Regions from separate parts of the Homo sapiens genome. Here all the other regions are linked to region 1. Evidence: promoter capture Hi-C in 16 types of primary human blood cells and fetal thymus (Javierre and others, 2016). All regions are on one chromosome and are shown on one strand. The core of a region is centred on a gene start or on the middle of the fragment in contact, and the rest is flanking DNA. Distances in the headings are between cores, read along the strand shown.

Evidence for each region. The method cuts DNA at HindIII sites, captures the fragments that hold promoters and counts their contacts. A CHiCAGO score of 5 or more calls a contact.
Region 2: a fragment that was not itself captured here is called in contact with the fragment with the promoter of SS18 in region 1 in 2 of 17 cell types (activated CD4 T cells and naive CD8 T cells); the score reaches 7.1 in activated CD4 T cells.
Region 3: a contact is called between a fragment that was not itself captured here and the fragment with the promoter of SS18 in region 1, in 1 of 17 cell types (activated CD4 T cells). The highest score is 5.0, in activated CD4 T cells.
Region 4: a fragment that was not itself captured here is called in contact with the fragment with the promoter of SS18 in region 1 in 1 of 17 cell types (activated CD4 T cells); the score reaches 5.3 in activated CD4 T cells.
Region 5: a fragment that was not itself captured here is called in contact with the fragment with the promoter of SS18 in region 1 in 6 of 17 cell types (activated CD4 T cells, non-activated CD4 T cells, naive CD8 T cells and 3 more); the score reaches 18.6 in activated CD4 T cells.
Region 6: a contact is called between a fragment that was not itself captured here and the fragment with the promoter of SS18 in region 1, in 4 of 17 cell types (activated CD4 T cells, naive CD8 T cells, non-activated CD4 T cells and 1 more). The highest score is 20.6, in activated CD4 T cells.

The regions. Positions count from the first base shown.
Region 1 is chr18:26,089,249-26,092,138 of GRCh38, reverse strand. SS18 (SS18 subunit of BAF chromatin remodeling complex) reads left to right here and starts at 1,526. Exons shown (of 11, transcript NM_001007559.3): 1 at 1,526-1,638. The coding sequence starts at 1,570. RefSeq lists an enhancer at 1,072-1,191. The HindIII fragment of the contact is 4,894 bases long and covers 1-2,890 here.
Region 2 is chr18:26,551,308-26,554,197 of GRCh38, reverse strand. All of the region lies in intron 1 of LOC124904273 (a long non-coding RNA gene), which reads right to left. It also overlaps a transcript of KCTD1 not described here. Among named protein-coding and RNA genes, the nearest start is that of KCTD1, 4.2 kb to the right of the region's middle. RefSeq lists an enhancer at 2,786-2,890. The HindIII fragment of the contact is 1,991 bases long and covers 410-2,400 here.
Region 3 is chr18:26,438,351-26,441,240 of GRCh38, reverse strand. No RefSeq gene overlaps it. Among named protein-coding and RNA genes, the nearest start is that of LINC01543, 17 kb to the right of the region's middle. The HindIII fragment of the contact is 2,171 bases long and covers 386-2,556 here.
Region 4 is chr18:26,413,505-26,416,394 of GRCh38, reverse strand. No RefSeq gene overlaps it. Among named protein-coding and RNA genes, the nearest start is that of LINC01543, 8.0 kb to the left of the region's middle. The HindIII fragment of the contact is 3,518 bases long and covers 1-2,890 here.
Region 5 is chr18:26,384,960-26,387,849 of GRCh38, reverse strand. All of the region lies in intron 14 of TAF4B (TATA-box binding protein associated factor 4b), which reads right to left. Among named protein-coding and RNA genes, the nearest start is that of LINC01543, 37 kb to the left of the region's middle. The HindIII fragment of the contact is 4,105 bases long and covers 1-2,890 here.
Region 6 is chr18:26,361,767-26,364,656 of GRCh38, reverse strand. All of the region lies in intron 14 of TAF4B (TATA-box binding protein associated factor 4b), which reads right to left. Among named protein-coding and RNA genes, the nearest start is that of LINC01543, 60 kb to the left of the region's middle. The HindIII fragment of the contact is 2,090 bases long and covers 395-2,484 here.

The sequences.
Region 1 (2,890 bases), core at 277-2,776:
ACCCTAGGTTTCCAGTATAAAGCCTAACAAACAATGCATTTAATCAATGACATTCTTGACATTTTTGTGAAGAGCATTTATTTGATACTTAATTTTTCTTTTTTTTTTTTTGAGACAGGGTCTTGCTGTGTCACCCAGGGTGGAGTGTGGTGGGGCAGTCATGGCTTACTGCAGTCTCCACCCCCTTGGCTCAAGTGATTCTTCCACCTCAGCCTCCTTAGTAGCTGGAACTACAGGTGCACACCACCATACCCAGCCAATTTTTAAAATTCTTGTAGAGACAGAGGTCTCACTTTGTTGCCCAGGCTGGTCTCAAACTCCTGGCCTCAAGTGATTAAATTTTTAAAATAATGTATTTTTTCTTTATTTTTCCAATTTATATAAAAATGGAAATATTTTTTATTATTCATTAACGTTGGGTAACACTTTATATAAACTTTCCCTTTGTGTTATATGGAAGTCTAAATTTACAGAATACTTTAAAACCCCACGGCAACACAAAACCCACATTTGTCCGTGTTCCTTCCATAATTTGAAAACTTTGCCTTTTTCCCTTACACTGACTTGAAGCCTGGCAGCTTGGGCCTAATTTACAAGGCACTAAGTAAGTACTCTCTTAAAAAACAGAGAGTGAGGATGCCCTGTTTCACAACTTAATTCCAAAAAGCCAAGTCAGACGAAATCGACCCACTTTCCTGCTAAGGGTTTGTCCCAAGAGGCGAGCTCTTCTCTGTCCGCTCCAGCCAAGCTGGCCGATTGCCCCTGAGCACTGGACACAACCTTGGTGTCCCGGTTTCGGGTCAGGGTTACTTTCCAATTGTTAGGCACGACTTTGTGCGTGCGTGCGAGACTGTGGACTCGGAGGTGCGCATTTGGGGCGTAGCCGAGCCATTTAAACCAGCGAATCCGCGTTCACCTTGTCCTTCCACCTCTGCCCTATCTCGGCAGATGCTCCACGGATTTGCACGAACTCCCGAGTCTTGACCTCCCTCCCCTCTCCGGGCTGCCGGGACAACTCGGGGCGGCCACTCTTGCCAGGAGGCGTAAGTAAGGATGAAGTTGGAAAAACTGAACTAGGTCTAGGGCACGCTCTGCAACACAGTCGGGGAGACGCTTCAGAGGGCCGGAGAGGGAGGCAAGTTGCCACGGCGCGAAGGGGGCGGGCCGGCTTGGGCCGCTCGCATTTCCTGTGACAGGGGCTGCCCCAGCCTCTCCTTCTCCCGCGGCGGCGGGACCATTTCCTGAATCGCTGAAGCGGAGGGAGGACTAGGGCGCGACTCTACCATTAGCGCAAAGGGCCAGGGGGTGCCCATAAGGAGAGCTCGGGGGATGCAGGGACGGTCAAGAAAGTTCGGCCAGGGCTAGGGGTCCCCCAGAGTGCGCAGAAGCGAGACATCCCTGGCCAGAGTGCCTCCTTCAGGCCTGCCCCGCCGCCCGTCCGCTTGGCCCCGGAGCATCCCCCCTCCCCGCATTCCCGAGGTGGTTCAGCCCGAGAGGCCGGCGTCTCTCCCCCAGTTTGCCGTTCACCCGGAGCGCTCGGGACTTGCCGATAGTGGTGACGGCGGCAACATGTCTGTGGCTTTCGCGGCCCCGAGGCAGCGAGGCAAGGGGGAGATCACTCCCGCTGCGATTCAGAAGGTGAAACCGCGCGGGGTTGCGGATGCCAGGCCCTTACCGCCTCTGGGAGAGACAGACGCGGGGGGAAGGGCCGGGCCCGGAGTCGACCGGGCCGAGGCGGAGGCGGGCCTGCTGGGAATCAGCAGTGTTTGGGAACACGGACTGCTGGCTGTGCCTGAGTGGGTGGCGGAAGAGGGTGAACCGGTTTTTCTCGGAGTCTTTCACGCATTTACGCGTTTTTCTACAGACACAAAAGCCCAAACAGCCGCCGCCTGATTTCTCTAGGGATGGGGCGGCGTTCGGGCTGCGGGGCGCGTGCGCCCGGCGGCGGCCGCTCAGGGAAGGGCGTGTGTCGGACCGGCGGCCCCGCGCGTTGCTCCGGAGTTACTTTGGCGTCGCCCCGCCCCGCGTGCCGCGGCTGCTTCGTGCGGACCCCACCGCGGGTCGCGGCAGGCAGAGGGGAAGTCGGTGCGCTGGTCGCCGCCCTGCAAACTCAGCCGAGTTTGGGAGCTCGCAGGAGGACTTGGGGAACGCTGGAGGGAACCTTAGTATAGAGTTTGAGGAGCGGGCAAGGAAGGTCCCCATGGACTCTGGGGTTGTCCCCAGAGCCTCTTCTTCCCTTCTGCATCGCCGCCTATTCATTTATTCTGCAGCAAATATTTATTGAGCGCCTATTTTAGGCGCTGAGGCTACTGTGGTGAGTCATGGTCCTTGCCTTCCTGGAGCTTACAGTCTAATGGTGGAGACTGTCGTGACCAGTTAATGTAAGTCGTGATAAATACACAGGGAGCTGCCTCCTTTTTAAAGGATAGAGCTGCTGCAGTCGCTGCTGTGTTACTGCCAGTCGGAACACAAAGGTTCTTTATTGTCCTCTACCCCTTGTTGCCTGCAAGCAAGGCAGCATTCTAAATTTTACTGACCTAGACTTTCAGAAGTTGCTGCTGTATTTAGCAGTTTACTTTAAATATTTTTGTTTTGTTTTATGCTGTGTAGCAAAGATCAAAATAGAAAAAAAGGTCAAGTTTTAGTACCACTCAGACCACGTAGATTATGCTAATCGGTTTCTGTTTACTGTCAGGTTCTTCGTAGTGTGGCTTTTGACATTTGCCCAACTGTTGCTTTATTTTATGAACAAACGGGCTTGGCAGTGCCTGGAAATGCAGTGCTTTCATATAGTGCTCTGAGTTAAGTCTGCAGCCTGGCAAACAGCTCCAAGTACGCACTCACGCAAAACTGCGTTTCTGGAGGGCTCACCTTTTTTATTTTTGTACAC
Region 2 (2,890 bases), core at 156-2,655, 460 kb before region 1:
TTTCTTTCTTTTTTCCTTCCTTCTTTCTTTTTCTTTCCTTCTGAATTGTTCCCTTGATTATTCTTTCTTTCTCTTTTCTTTCTTTCCCTCCTTCCTTCTTTTTCTTTCTTTCTGAATTATTGAAGATTCTTTCTTTCCTTCCTATTTCTTTCATTCTTTCCTTCCTTTCTTTTCTTTCATCTTCTTTTCTTTTTTCTTTTTATCTTTTCTTTTCTTTCTCTCTGTCTCTCTTTCTCTCTTCATTCTTTGGTTCCTAGAGGCTGAATATGGTCAAGTGGTTCAAGCATGGCCTATGGAACCAGACTTGCCTGCCCTGGTCAGGTCTGGGAGACCTTGGGCAAATGTCTTCACCTTTTTTTTTTTTTTTTTTACCCTCTCTGGCCTTAGTTTTCTTGTTTGCTATCAAGCTTGGGAAACAATAGAGCCTTAATAAATAAGAAGTAATGGTCAAATGTGTATGAATGTTCCAGACAATGTGTTAAGTGTTTTGTGCATATCAACTTATTTAATTCTCAAAACAATCCCAAGGGGTAGGGACTGTTATCATTATCACCCAGGTAATAAAATGAGAGAACTGAGCCATAGAAAAGGGTGGCTAGTAAGGCAAACTAGGATTCACACCCAGGTAGGCTGGCTTCAGAGAGAGTTTTTCACCACTCTGCTATACAGCCTTTTGTTGAAGTTAGCTTTCTCCCCACACATAAATGTGCGTATATTTATTGGGTATCTACTATGTGCCAGTCACTCTGCTAAAATATACCAAGAAACTGAATTGGAAATGAACTGGAAATACAGAAATAAATAAGACAAAGTTTCTGCTCCTGTGGAGTTATTTTTCTTTTCTTACACTTTGTCAACTTAGATGACATGGGTTCAATTTTCATCTGAGTTCAAAAAACATTACTCAAGATGATTCTCAGTTGAATTCAACAGAATTAATAGCTAAACTCTGAGACAGGAGTGGTGGCTCACTTGAGACCAGGAGCTCAAGACCAGCATAGGCAACATGGGGAAACTTATCTCTACAAAAAATACAAAAATTAGGAAGGCTTGGTGGAGCAGGCCTGTAGTCCCAGCTACTTGGGAAGATGAGATGGGAGGATCACTTGAGCCCAGGAAGTTGAGGCTGCAGTGAGCCATAATCATGCCACTGCTCTCCAGCCTGGGTGAAAGAGTAAGACCCTGTCTCAAAAGAAAAAAAAAAAAAAAAGAAAGAAAAAGAAACCTCTAAAACCAAGATATACCAAAATAGTTTCAATTTGAATTCATATTTAGCCTTGAAAGCCCTTTATGAATCTTTCAGTAATTACATCAAGACAGTATGGCGTCTCTTTTAATTTGTGTCTTTAAAATGATGAACTAAATGCTTTTTCTGGCCTCTGCTCTCAAGAGCCCACAAAATTTCTGAAATTTAACAATTTAAATCCTCCCCAGCCCACCTCTCTTAATAGAGACACTTCCATTCCCCAGATCTGCCTTCAGAAGGGGCAACATTAACTCTACTGCAAGAAAAGGGTCCCTCACTCTACTTCTGCAATAAGTTTCTAAAGCATGTTCCACTAGAGAGGGAATTAATGATAAGGAAATATTCATCCAAAGCAGCCATTAAATTCATTTTAACTTGCAAACAATAATGTTGCCTTGTAGTTACTATTTGTCCTGATTTTTAATACAGAGCTTCAGATTCATGTTATTTTTAATTTTTCACAAAAACTTCCCTGCTAAATGTAAGATTTAACCAAACACAGATTCTCTTCATTCAATATAAATGACAAGTGCTCACCATGTCCCCAGGCACCAGACTGAAACTACAAGGGTGTGTGTTGCTTTAGTAGAGAGGAAACAGGCAGATAAAAACCAACTATATCCAGTATATTAACAGATGATACTCAGAAAACTGGAAGCAAAAAGGAGGAAGAGCTGAATATGTTTCTGTATAGTATAACCTTTCATAAAATGTGAGCCTGAAATGGAAGTAGTTGGGTTATGAATCGAGGGGGAAACATTTGGAGTTTTTCATGCCGAAATAACCATGTCACTATTTTCAAGTATTCTGAGAAGTGGAGAAGCACAAATATACAAAGAGACCCCCCACCCCCACCAGCAAAAGGTGGAGAATCTTGTTAAAAGTTGTAAACATCTTACCATAGTTTAGAGAGTTCTGACAGTTAAATAATTGCAATAAATGTTCCCTATAGTACTGGGATTATAAAGAAGTCATGTATCCTGCACAAGAAATAAAAAGCATCCTTTCAAAGGGGTGACCGGCAGCTTCGATTGTCAAGGTGGTAGTCTGAACGGACTTCATGATATGGAGAGGTCAAGTAGAGGAATTGGATGCTGCCTGATAGGCAGAACGACAACCAATATTGCCTCTACAGAAATAATAAGAAGAAAGCTTTTTTGATTCTTTCATTTTGGAATTGAGTGTATGGAACCACAGGATGTTTTTAAGGGATCATTTATTAAACTTGGAATTGAACTACTTTATGAACTCCACTGTAATTTTGTGTTATTGGGTTTTAAAAATTAAGCAACTTTTTTTTTTCTTTTGGTCGAGGGGAAGCAGGGTATATATCTGTTTTTCTGGGTGTTCTTCCCGTGACTCCTATAGATAGTAGCCCAAAGACGTCTTCTTTTCCAGTATTTAATGAAGTATCCTACGGGCAGATCATTTTGGTAGCCTTTCCGGAGCTGGTGCAACGAAGCAGATCCACAGTTGCCCGATAATCAGGCCAAGGCATACTTTCCAAGGTGCGTTTTTCATATCGAATTTAAGCGCGGGTCCTGCCCGTTGTTTGCAAACTGTCCAAGCAGCACCCAAAACTGCTGCTTTTCCAAGTCCGTTAAAAAGTTATTTGCGCTTGGGGTTTTTCGGTTCTGCTACACC
Region 3 (2,890 bases), core at 222-2,721, 350 kb before region 1:
CTTGGCTCACTGCAACATCCGTCTCCCAGGTTCAAGCGATTCTCACCCCCCTAGACTCCCAAGTAGCTAGGACTGCAGACAGGCACCATCACACCTGGCTAATTTTTGTATTTTTAGTAGAGACGGGGTTTCGCCATGTTGGCCAGGCTGGTCTCAAACTCCTGACCTCAAGTGATCCACCCGCCTCAGCCTCCCAGTGTTGGGATTACAGGCGTGAGCCCAGTAATTCTTTTAAAAGCTCTTTTGTTTTGTTTGCTGACTCGACCCAGTCCAGTATCACACGTTGCATTTAGTTGTTATAATGCTGAGCACTTTTTAGCCCACATTAAACGTGTGTCTGATTTGTCACTCTCACTGATTAAGAAATCTCAGATAAATGAAAGCTTGATTCTGCAATTAATCCGGAAGTTACAACTCTTGAAGTACAGCCATGAGTATCAGAACATACTGTTCCAACGGCGGAAGTGGCTACATCATTAAATTATCCTGTTGAATAAATGACATAACTCATTCAGAAATGGAGCAGGGCATACAGGTAGGAAAAATGTTAACTGCTCACCACCTCTCATCGTCTGTAGTCAGGGACACAGACAGTTTGCAGCAGAGGCTGACATTCTGCCCTTGTCAAAGTCACAGACACTGGGAGCTAGGCATCTTTCAAGGTAGCTCTTCTCCCTCCCATGGAAGGCATCCCACGGAAGACCCCACCACGGTCTTCCAGCTTCGCCTTCAATGCTTATCATGGGTAGCCTGGAACCCAGAATGCCTGGGTTCCAGCTTAGCTATGTGACATTGAGCGGGTCACTTAAACACTCTTTAGCGGCCCAGCTTCTTTAGCTAATGAGAGCACACTGCCATCTGCCTCAACTGCACCTGAAGACTGTTAAGGGGAGCAAACAAGAAAGAATGTGGGAAGGCATCACCCTTCACCAGGTCAGCCATCACTGACTTGACAAGGAGCTTGCTACTGTCACGCTGGGTGCCTTTGCTGCCCTAACAGCTCTTCCCCTGGGTCCACTGTCCTCCACTAAGGAGAAAGGCATTGAATCAGTCCTTACTGCTTTCTTTACCAGATTAAGCAGCCCCATTTTCTTCAACTAAAATGCCCTTGATCTGGACACTGTACTCAACTTAGTGCAACCTAAGAAGCAGACACCACCCGGACCTTGGGTTTGATCAAGCCAGATATCCCCCATCCCTTGAGCAATTGATCATTTATAACCAAAGAAAGAACTGGCCCTTATTCCCCATGAAATTTCACAGGATTAGTGTTTTGGATGCTTTGGGGTTCTTCCATCTGTCCTCCAGGAAGCTATTCACTCCTTCAAGTCTTGAGTCATCTGAGAATTCTCTGAGCATGGCCTGTCCATCTTCATCCGAGCCACAGACATCACTGTTGACTTGAAGCACACCATCAAAGTTCTCCCTCTAGGATAATGCCAGCCTCTTCACCAGCATTACTTGGGTACGGGTGTTCCCAACAGCTGTGAACCCACAGGACTAGGCTATCACTCATTCATTCGTTCATTCATTCATTCATGCATTCAGAGCTGCTGAGCACCCACTGTGAGCCAGCCCTGCACTTGGCACTAGCCCCTCAAGAAAAAGAGGAGGAAGCTGGCGCACTTATGGCTTTTCCACTCAGATCCTCCTGATTACAAATCCCTGCATCCTCCCTTTCTATCCCTTTAGTATGTCCATCAAGAAGGAAATGACTTCTTTGGAAGGGCCTGGGCATCTGCTTTCTTTGATACACTATTCATAAACATTCAGGGCATAATTTATCAAGAAACTTGGGTGTCAGCTTAGACAACACTGCATCTGAGAACAGTTCCCTATCCCCTGCCCAACTTTCTGAACAGAACACACACACACACATACACCCTTTCCTCCACTGCACCATAAATGGAGAAGCTACATTTACCCAGGACACCACCACCCTCATTGATCGGCCCAGAGGGAATACCTGTGTCAGGTCTCTTACATGCAAATATATAATTGAGTCTAGGAGACTCATCTCTGTCTGGCTGCGCTGTCAAAAAGAGGAACTATCAGCCTTAGCTCTGTGGGCTGCCAAGTTCACGGGCAAGAGAAAATTCAGAGGCCGGGGTACAGCAGAAGCAGCAACAACAGCAGTTGATTTCTTGGTTCTGGTTGACTCCTGAGGCCTGGTGGGTCCCTGCTGTCACTTTTGTGAGACAGCTCTGTACTGTCGGAGTAAGCTCCACTTTCTTTAAGCTATATAAATTGGTTTATATTATTTGCAATTAAAAAATTCCACCCAGCAGGGCACGGTGGTTCATGCCTGTAATCTCAGCACTTTGGGAGGCCCAGGTGGGCGGATCACTTAAGTCCAGGAGTTTGCTAGCAGCCTGGCCAACATGTCAAAACCCCGTCTCTAGAAAAAATACAAAAATTAGCTGGGTGTGTTGGCGTATGCCTGTAATCCCAGCTACTTGGGAGGCTGAGGCACAAGGATCACTTGAACCAGGAGGTGGAGGTTGCAGTGAGCCAAGATCACACCACCACACTCCAGCCTGGGTGACAGAGCAAGCTTCTGTCTAAAAATAAAAGTAAAAATTCCACTTAATACATAATGCAGAAAAGGTGCCATTAATAGTTGATTTTAGATGTTTTTGTACCCTTTTAGATAACTAGGAACATTGTTGATTTTGTTCCTAGTTACTGATTTTTTATTGTTACTGATATTCCATTGCCACTCTTCCACTTTCTCCGGGAAATCTCAGTAGTTAACACATCTACAGGTCTGTCCTTATCTGGAAATGTATTTCATCTAAACCGAGAAGCTCCAATTCAGGTAAGCCACCAGGGGCCAGCCCACACTCTGCCCCTGTCCTGAGGTCCAGTTCCTTCCATACTTTGTTCCACC
Region 4 (2,890 bases), core at 251-2,750, 320 kb before region 1:
CCTGACTTGTCGGATTCTCTAATCCATCATCTTTTTCCATAGACCTCCATCAGACCTTGAATGGAATTTTTATAATATTAGGCAATGATATGCAAGAGGACTGAGAAAGGAAAGAACCTGATAGCAGAGGCATAGCCAGGGAGCCTGGTGCACTCATCCAGGGATGAGTCCTAAACCAAAGCAAAGACAGCTGGAATCGAGAGAGATTTTGTGGAGGCTGAGCCACCTTCACAGGGGGTGAGAAAGAGAGGAGTAAGAAATTGGGAAAGATCAAACAAAACTGAGATTGTTGAGCCTAAAGGAACCAGGAAGTGATGGAAGAGATGAACATATTGAGGAAAGGGAGCCTTCTTGAGCAGAGGGGCATCAAATGAAAATGTCTGGAAAAAATTTAAGAATTCAGATTTTGGTTTTCGAAGAAATTAGGGAAGGAGAATGAAGATGCGAAAAGCAGCCCCATCCATAATAGCTAAAGTCACAAACGTGGGGCGGGGGTCCCTCAGTATAGGAAGGAAAGCTGTGAGCTGAGAACAGGCTTGGGTGGAGGGGAGGAAGAGTGGTCAGAGGGCAGGAGACCCTGGCAGCACCCCAGGGCCACACTAGGCAGAGGTCGCTCTCCCACCAGGGGTGCTCAGAGTATCAAACAGAAGCTGCAGATAGGACATGGCTGTGGTAATCGGAAGGAAACTCATTTTTAAGAGTGTAGTCTAAGTAGAGTGGTGAGAGTGGAGGTCAGATTACAGACGGTTAAAGAAAGATGCAGGGTAAAGAAAGAAGACAGAAGTCACAGACCATATGTTTAAGATATTTAGAAAAAGAAAGATAAAAAGGGAAATAGCAGGATTAAGCAGAGATTTTTTTCTTTCCCTTCAAGTTCCAAAATACTCGAATGTGTCTGACCATAGAAAGGAGGGATCTAGTGAAAATGAAGACAGAGTAAAGAAAAGAGATTGTTGAAGAGACTGATTTCTAAGGAAGGCAAGAAGCATTTACAATGAGCCACTATATGCAAAGTATTATGTTTCGCACAGTAAGAAATAATGCAGAAAATGGTGTCTTCTCTAAGGAACTCACAATTTAGAAGGAGAAACGACAGTTATGCAAATAATTCCCTTTTACAACAGTGTAAGTCCTGTGTTAATGTTATGTTAATAACAAAGTGCTCTTGGAGTCGAGAGGAAATTAGGGATGAAGGGGGAAGGGACATTTCAAAAGGCATCACAGGGGAGAAAGTACTAAACTCAGCCTTGAACGATTAGTAAGAATATAATTGGCAAAAGATCATGAGCAAAGAAAGAGGAATTTTGGCCACAAAAATGGAATTCATAGCAAGGGTAGAGGATTTGGCCTTAGAAAGGAGGGGCAATTCTCCAAGGGAGACTTGGGGGGAAGAATAAGTAGGAAAGATTAAGTGGATAAAGAGGTATTGTAAAGTAGAGAGGATAGGAGAGGAGAGAACTCATACCTGATGGTGTCTCCATACTTGTAGGAAAGCAGAGGGCCAGGGGTCAAGGCCAAGAGGAAAAAGATTTTAAATAGCAGTGAACATTCAGGTGAATGAAGTTAGAAACTCCCAAAACTTTGTCTAGCAAGAATTGGCACTCTGGGAATAGGAACTAGAATAGTAACTGTCGAGAGGACTGTAGCTTCCCGAAGTCTGATGGAGAAGATACTCTGGCCTATCCTCATATGGAAAATAATGAACAATGCTGATATACAGAAAGCATTGATGAGTTTGGCAAAAAAAAAAAAAAAAAAAAAAAGTAAGTGACTGAAAACCAAGCAAAGGTGAGAGTGAAAGCCCAGAAAAATAAGCAGAATTCTAATGCCACCTTATATCTTAATAACATTTACTCTAAAAGTAAATTTGAATTTTTATTTTCACAGCCTTGCTGGGTGAAAAAAACAGGGCCTGGTCAAGGTGGGGAGGCCAATAGAAGAGCCCCCTCCATAAATCTAGAACCCTAATGGGTTATATCTTCCAGTTAATTAACTAGGAAATAGATTCACCCACTCCCTCCCTCAAGGGGAAGCAAGGAGTTTGCCTCTTTCAACCTTGAACCTGAGTAGAAGAAAAAAACCTCAAGTTGAATATTTAGTTAAAAGATGCCTATGACTGGTGGTTCCCCCAGATGCCTGGAAGAGGTAAGTACAAACCTTCCCAAGAGAAACTTACTCAACCTAGCATCAAATAATTTCTACAGATATGAGCTCACAGTCAAAAATCACGAAATAGGCCAGGCATGGTGGCTCATGCCTGTAATCCCAGCACTTTGGGAGGCCTAGACAGGAAGATCACTTGAGTCCAGGAGATCGAGACCAGCCTGGGCAACACAGGGAGACCTCAGCTCTACAAAAAATCAGAAAAATAAAAAAATTAGCCAGGTGTGATGGTGCGCACCTCCAGTCCCAGCTACATGGGAGGCTGGCACAGGAGAATTGCTTGAGCCCAGGAGGTTGAGGCTGCAGTGAGCCAAGATTACACGATTGTACTCCAGCCTGGGTGACAGAGTGAGACCTGTCTCAAAAAAAAAAAAAAAAAAAGTAATAATCATGTCTTATAGAGTTAAAAATTAGAACCAAAATATAAGACACCAATAGCACATGATCTAAGATTAGGGAAGGGGTTTGTTGATAGGATTTAAAGTATTCTGAACTATATACTATTTAGAGAGAAAAAATACTAATTAACTTCAGACTGATAAGTTAGAATTTTTAGAATAATAATAAAGAATAAAGTGTATCATTCCCAAGCTAGTAAGAATAAAATTACACAAGAAAAATAATGTTTATTCTAAAAAGAAGAAAGAAATGGGTGGATCCAATTCAGACAATCCAAGAGAAAAAAACAAAACAAAAAAAATTTTTGTGTGTGAGACAGGAAAATTTG
Region 5 (2,890 bases), core at 177-2,676, 300 kb before region 1:
TACCCAGTTTTTGAGGGACATGATGTCGCAGTCATATTTTTATACTCATTAAGTTAAACTTGTTCATAAGTATCCATGGAAACAATTTTGGAAAGTCCACGTTCTAAAAGAGGGAAAAAAATTGGTCTCAGCTGCCCAATTGTTCGGCTACTTATCCCAGAGCCCATCTACAGTATAGAGCCAGTCTCTCGCCACTTCTGCAGGGTTCTTGGTAATGAATGCAATTTGTACAAGTGTAAGCCTCTGGTACTTCAGCTAAGCCTGGCAGTGAAGCACTAGCATGCCACTCTGCTAGCATCAACACTCAGAGATGGTGTAACTCAGATGTAACTTTAACTATTGTAAATTATTACCATCAAAATATCTTCATAAGATTTTTGCGGAATGGGACCAAAAGCTCAGTTTTGTTTGGAAAATTGAATAAAAAGTACATATTAGGAAGAAAGTTACTAAAACATGTAATTGGCAGTGAGTGGAAATTTTGTTGTTTACAGGAGTAACCCATTTAAAACTACAACATATTTAGGCCAAGGCAAGCAAATCGCTTGAGGTCAGGAGTTCGAGACCAGCCTGGCTAACATGGTGAAACCCCACCTCTAACAAAAAATAAATAAAAATGAGCCAGGCATGGTGGTGTGCGTCTGTAAGCTCACTTACTCGGGAGACTGAGGTGGAAGAACTGCTTGAACTTGGGAGGCAGAGGTTGAAGTGAGCCAAGATCATGCCACTGCACTCCAGCCTGGGTGACAGAGTGAGACTCTGTCTTAAAAAACAAAAAACAACTACAATACATTTAACTAGAGGCAATTTCTTTAGCCATAAATTAGATACATTATGCTAAAACTGTATCTATATGTTTATAAATCTTCTAAGAGTTTTCCTAAAATCAGTACTTTGGTGTTTTATATGAGATTTTAAAATAACTGGCTAGACAGACACAATGTCTTGGCAATTCCACATCTATGTAAACACCCAGAAATATGCCATGGGTTCATCAAAAGATATGTATAAGGATGACTACTATTCACAAGAGCCCTAAGCTAGAAACAATCCGAGTGAGTACATTAAGAGTACAATAAATTGTGGAATAGTCATACCATGGAATAATACACAGCAATAACGACTGGGTAACATGAAAGAGTATCACAAAAATGTTCAATGAAAGGAACCAGACACAAAGGAATTCATACTGTATGATTCAATTTCTACCAAGTCCCAGAACAGGCAAAGCTAAAAAAAAGTCAGGAGAGTGAGTTCCCATGGGGGAGATGAGAAGTGATTAGAAAGAGACTGAAGTTTTCTGGAGTTCTGGTGATGTTTCCTTCTTGATCTAACTACTGCCTACATGAATGTGTTCATGCTGTGAAAACTGTGGTGAGCTTATGACTTGTGTACTTTCTATATTGATGCTATATTTCAATAAAAAAAATTAAATTGCTACCCCAAAAACCTTGCCTCAGGAGGAAATTAACATGGAAGCAAAGAGAGGGGGGAAAGGAAAGACAATAAGGCAAAATTGTCAAACAGAAAAAAAAAATAAAGAGACCTAATCATCTGAGTAAGGAACAAAGGGGTCACAGTTCATGTTTGTCATGTGACAAGCCTGAAGGATTCAGGGGAAAGAGCCATATTACAGCTGCCAGCACAGAGTTGAAAAGAAGGTCATTCCAACAGGATGCAGCAGAGAGCCTGAGGCAATGTTATAAATGAAAAAAACCCCAAGGGACATTCAGTAACCCAACAGAAATGTCTTTCATAATTCACAACTTTATGAAGGTGATAGCATTCTCTTCCCCCAAATAGCAGCTAACTTAGAAAGTCAATCTTTCTTGAATCTGAATACAAAATATATAGCATTTTTATTCCTGAGCTTTGATTTGGCAAAGTCCACAACTGTAACTTGTCAATCACAATGACCTGGCCAGAATAACCAGCTACTCTCAGTTATCCACAGTCAAGGGGGTAGAGAGTGCACAGGTAACTTACAGCCATAAAAACCAAACCTGCTTTTTCACCATCAGTTTTAATTTTCCTCTGCCTCACCAAGTCCTTTCCCCAGAGTTGACTAGGACTGATTTCTGGTCACATTAGAAATCACAAAGAATACTAATGTGGTTAAGGGCCCAGAGTTTGCAAGAAGAAGAAGAAGAAGAAGAAAAAAAAAAAAAAACGCTGTTTATTCTTCTCACTGTTAGTGTACTGTTCACTTCGGAAATAGAAGGTTTTCCCATGTAACTTTCTACATGAGGATATTCCTTAATCTGGATTCTTCACCTGGATGAAAATGAAAGATGAAACGACCAATTCATTTCCCAGGTGCACAAAAGATGTCCTAGGAAGCCTACTCAAACCTAAATGTTAACATCTTCTAAAATTGCCAGATCAATTATGTTAGCCTTCATAATTGTTACTCATTAATGTTACCCAGCCCACTAACAACTTATCTCACCTAATTTGTTTTGTTATACCACTGAACTAAGTTTCTTGTTTTTATAATGAAACTTCTGAGGAACTCTATTGCTCTAACAAGAAAAAATGGAAAATCATCAGTTATCAATTTTAGATAAATAACACCATTTTAATAATGATACTAAATAACCAAAAATAACTAGTAATCCAATTTTTATCCCTCAACTTAATACAGCAGTGTTGTGAAATAAAACCTTTAAAGATTTTTCTACTTCTTTTTCCACATTTCCTTAAATTGGATGACTGCTCTAAGTCAGAAGCAGAAAGGACATCTTTATGAACCCAGTGGCTTCGGGAATCCTGTTGGGGTTTGCAGTGACTCCATACGGGCCTCTCCTCCCAAGAGCCACCATCCACGGTAATGTAGCTTCATGCTAGTCTACGTTCTGATTCCATTCAAAATTCTCTGGGTTACTGGGTA
Region 6 (2,890 bases), core at 190-2,689, 270 kb before region 1:
TCTTTGTGCTAAAAAAAAACGTTGCTGGATCATTAATAAGGCATGCAAAATATTTGAAAGTATAGCTAATGGGGGAAAAGAGAATCTTTCTAATCCAAGGATCTCTAATTAACACAGGAAGTAAAGTGATTAATGTTTTAAAATTCCAAAGAACCCCAAACACATCACCGATACAATACATATAAACAATACACACATACAAATACTCTAAATCTTAAAGTAGGTTTTATTTTACTGTATCAATATCTGTACGGCCTACATTAATTTAAAAACTAATTTCATATATATAACTTCAAACCACAGCAGCAAAAGGAAAGGACACATTTCAAAGTACTCCCAAATAGTACATTTTAACTATTTTTCCACCCTCCTGCGACCCACTAGCCAATAAGCTTATGGTATAAATATCTTATTCAAAATTGTAATTGGTACTTGCTGCTCTTTGTCAGGATAACATAAGGAGATAGCAGCTGATGCTATTCAATTTTACCAAGACTTCAGAGAATATCAAGTGTAAATTTCCAAAGGCTAGGTTAATATATAAATTATACAAATAGATCATATTTAATGAGAAAAGTTTTGCTTTATCATAACAAAAAATACTCAAGGACAAAGGTCTAAAACTAATTTCTCCAATTTCTTAGCAACAATAAAGGTAATCTTCGAATGTTAAAGTGCTATGTTTTTGAATGTTACATTTTTTTAAAAACTACCATCATTCTATTCAATCTTCCCAACTGAGAGTGCTCCCTTTTAGTAGGAAAAAACCTGCATTCAAACTAAAGAGTTACCCTCTGAAGAACTAGATTCTACTCCCACTTCTCTCTGGGATTATATGCTGATTCTAAAAAATTTAACTCAAACATGTTAAGATTTCAGGTTCCCATCGATAAAGAAGCAAACAAAAAGTAAAGGCTTTGTTTCCAGAGTACAGAATATTGAAAGTAAAAATGGTTTCATACATCATTTTTGTGTTATTTGTGAAGAAATAAAGCAAGTGAATAAAGGTTTCTAACAATTGTAACTAATGCAAATCAGCAGTATACCTAAACATTGAAGGAGCATGCAATAGGGCTCTCTCCTCTCTCTCCTTTTTTCTTTTATTTTTTTCTTAGGCAGGGTCTTACTGTGTCACCCAGGCTGGAGTGCAGTGGCCTGATCACAGCTCACTGCAGCCTTGACCTCCTGGGCCAAGCTATCCTCCCTCCTAAGCCCTCCAAGTTGCTGGAACTACAGGCGCACACCACCACGCGCTGCCTTTTTTTTTTTTTTTTTTTTTTTTTTTTGGTAGAGACAGGGTTTTGTGACCCACACTCCTCAGCCTCTCAAAATGCTGGGATTACAGGCTGGAGCCACTGCACCCAGCCTGTCTCTCATTTTGAAAACAAAAATGCCTTTAAAGTTAAAACACCATGAATAAAAATCAACAACAAGGAAACTAGTGTTCAGCAAATTTCAAAATAATAATTGTACTAAAAATGTCACCAGCTGATTAAAGAAATAGATATTTTCAATTCAAATTGACATTATAGTCATCCCTTGGTATCCTCGGGGGACTGGCACCAAGATATAGATAGCAAAAACCAAAGACGCTCAAGTCCCTGATATAAAATGGCATAGTATTTGCATGTAACCTACGCATATCTTCCTGTATACTTGAAATCACCTCTGGATTACTTATACTACATAATACAATGTAAATGCTATATAAATAGTGTAATACTGTATTTTTAAATTTAGTATAGTTTTTAATTGTTGTAGTGTTATTTTTTATTATGTGATGTTTTTTCCTCCGAATAATTTTGATCTGCAGTTGGCTGAATACACAGATGTGGACAGAACCCACAGATCCAAAGGACTGATTATATGACTATTATCTCAGCTTAAAGTACAGGAAGTACAGGGGAAAATATGCATGCCTGAGTTCTCAAAACTAAAGAAGCACCAAGTGACAGACAATTCAATATATTTATATCCAAGTTAGTAAACATCTGTTTTGAAACTAAAAATTAAATAATTTTGCATTTTATTGTAGATAAATCACATAATGGTTTTTATCATTGTTTTGAACACAAACAGCACATTCGGTTTTCTCCCTAACCAATGGATTTTCTCAGATTCAAACATATAATAAATAAAAACACCTAAAAATCTGTTTATTATAAATTAGAAAGTATTCTCTAAAATTTGTGACAAATTCAAAGGAGAATAAGAATTGATGCTCAGGAGAGATTAATGATTAACATTGCAAATTCACTATGGGCCATTAATGCTACTGATAAAATACTATTAAAAGCCAAAATCATGGAATTATTACTATGATTACAAATATGACAATTCATTAAGCACTTACTTGAGACCAGACACTAATTAAGTACTTCACATAAACCAATCCTTAAAACATAAGACAGGCAATATGCCCATTTTACAGGTGGGGATAATTGAGGTATGGGGTTTAAAGAACTCATCCAAGGTTACAAAGCTTAACAGAGTCAAGAAGCAAACCCAGATTTTTCTGAGTCTAAAGCACATATACTTATCCCATGTGCTCTGATGATTTCTCACAAAGCAAACATTTAACATAATTTGTTGTATAATGTTACTGTAGTAGAAAAGTCAGGAACTTAGACATGCCTATAACACATTCTCAAAGGAATTAAAAGTTACAAGTAACTACTCTTGCCACAAAATAAAATGTATGCTAACAAAGCATATTTATAGGAATATACTTAATGATGAAATAGCACACCCCAATTTAAATAAAATATTTACACATATCATATACAAATGGACCAAAAACAAAGAGCAGTGAGTTGTCCTGTACTAGAACAACTCAGTAGAGTTGTTTCTAGCAGAAAGATAAATTCTATGCTGAACTAATTTTTCCATA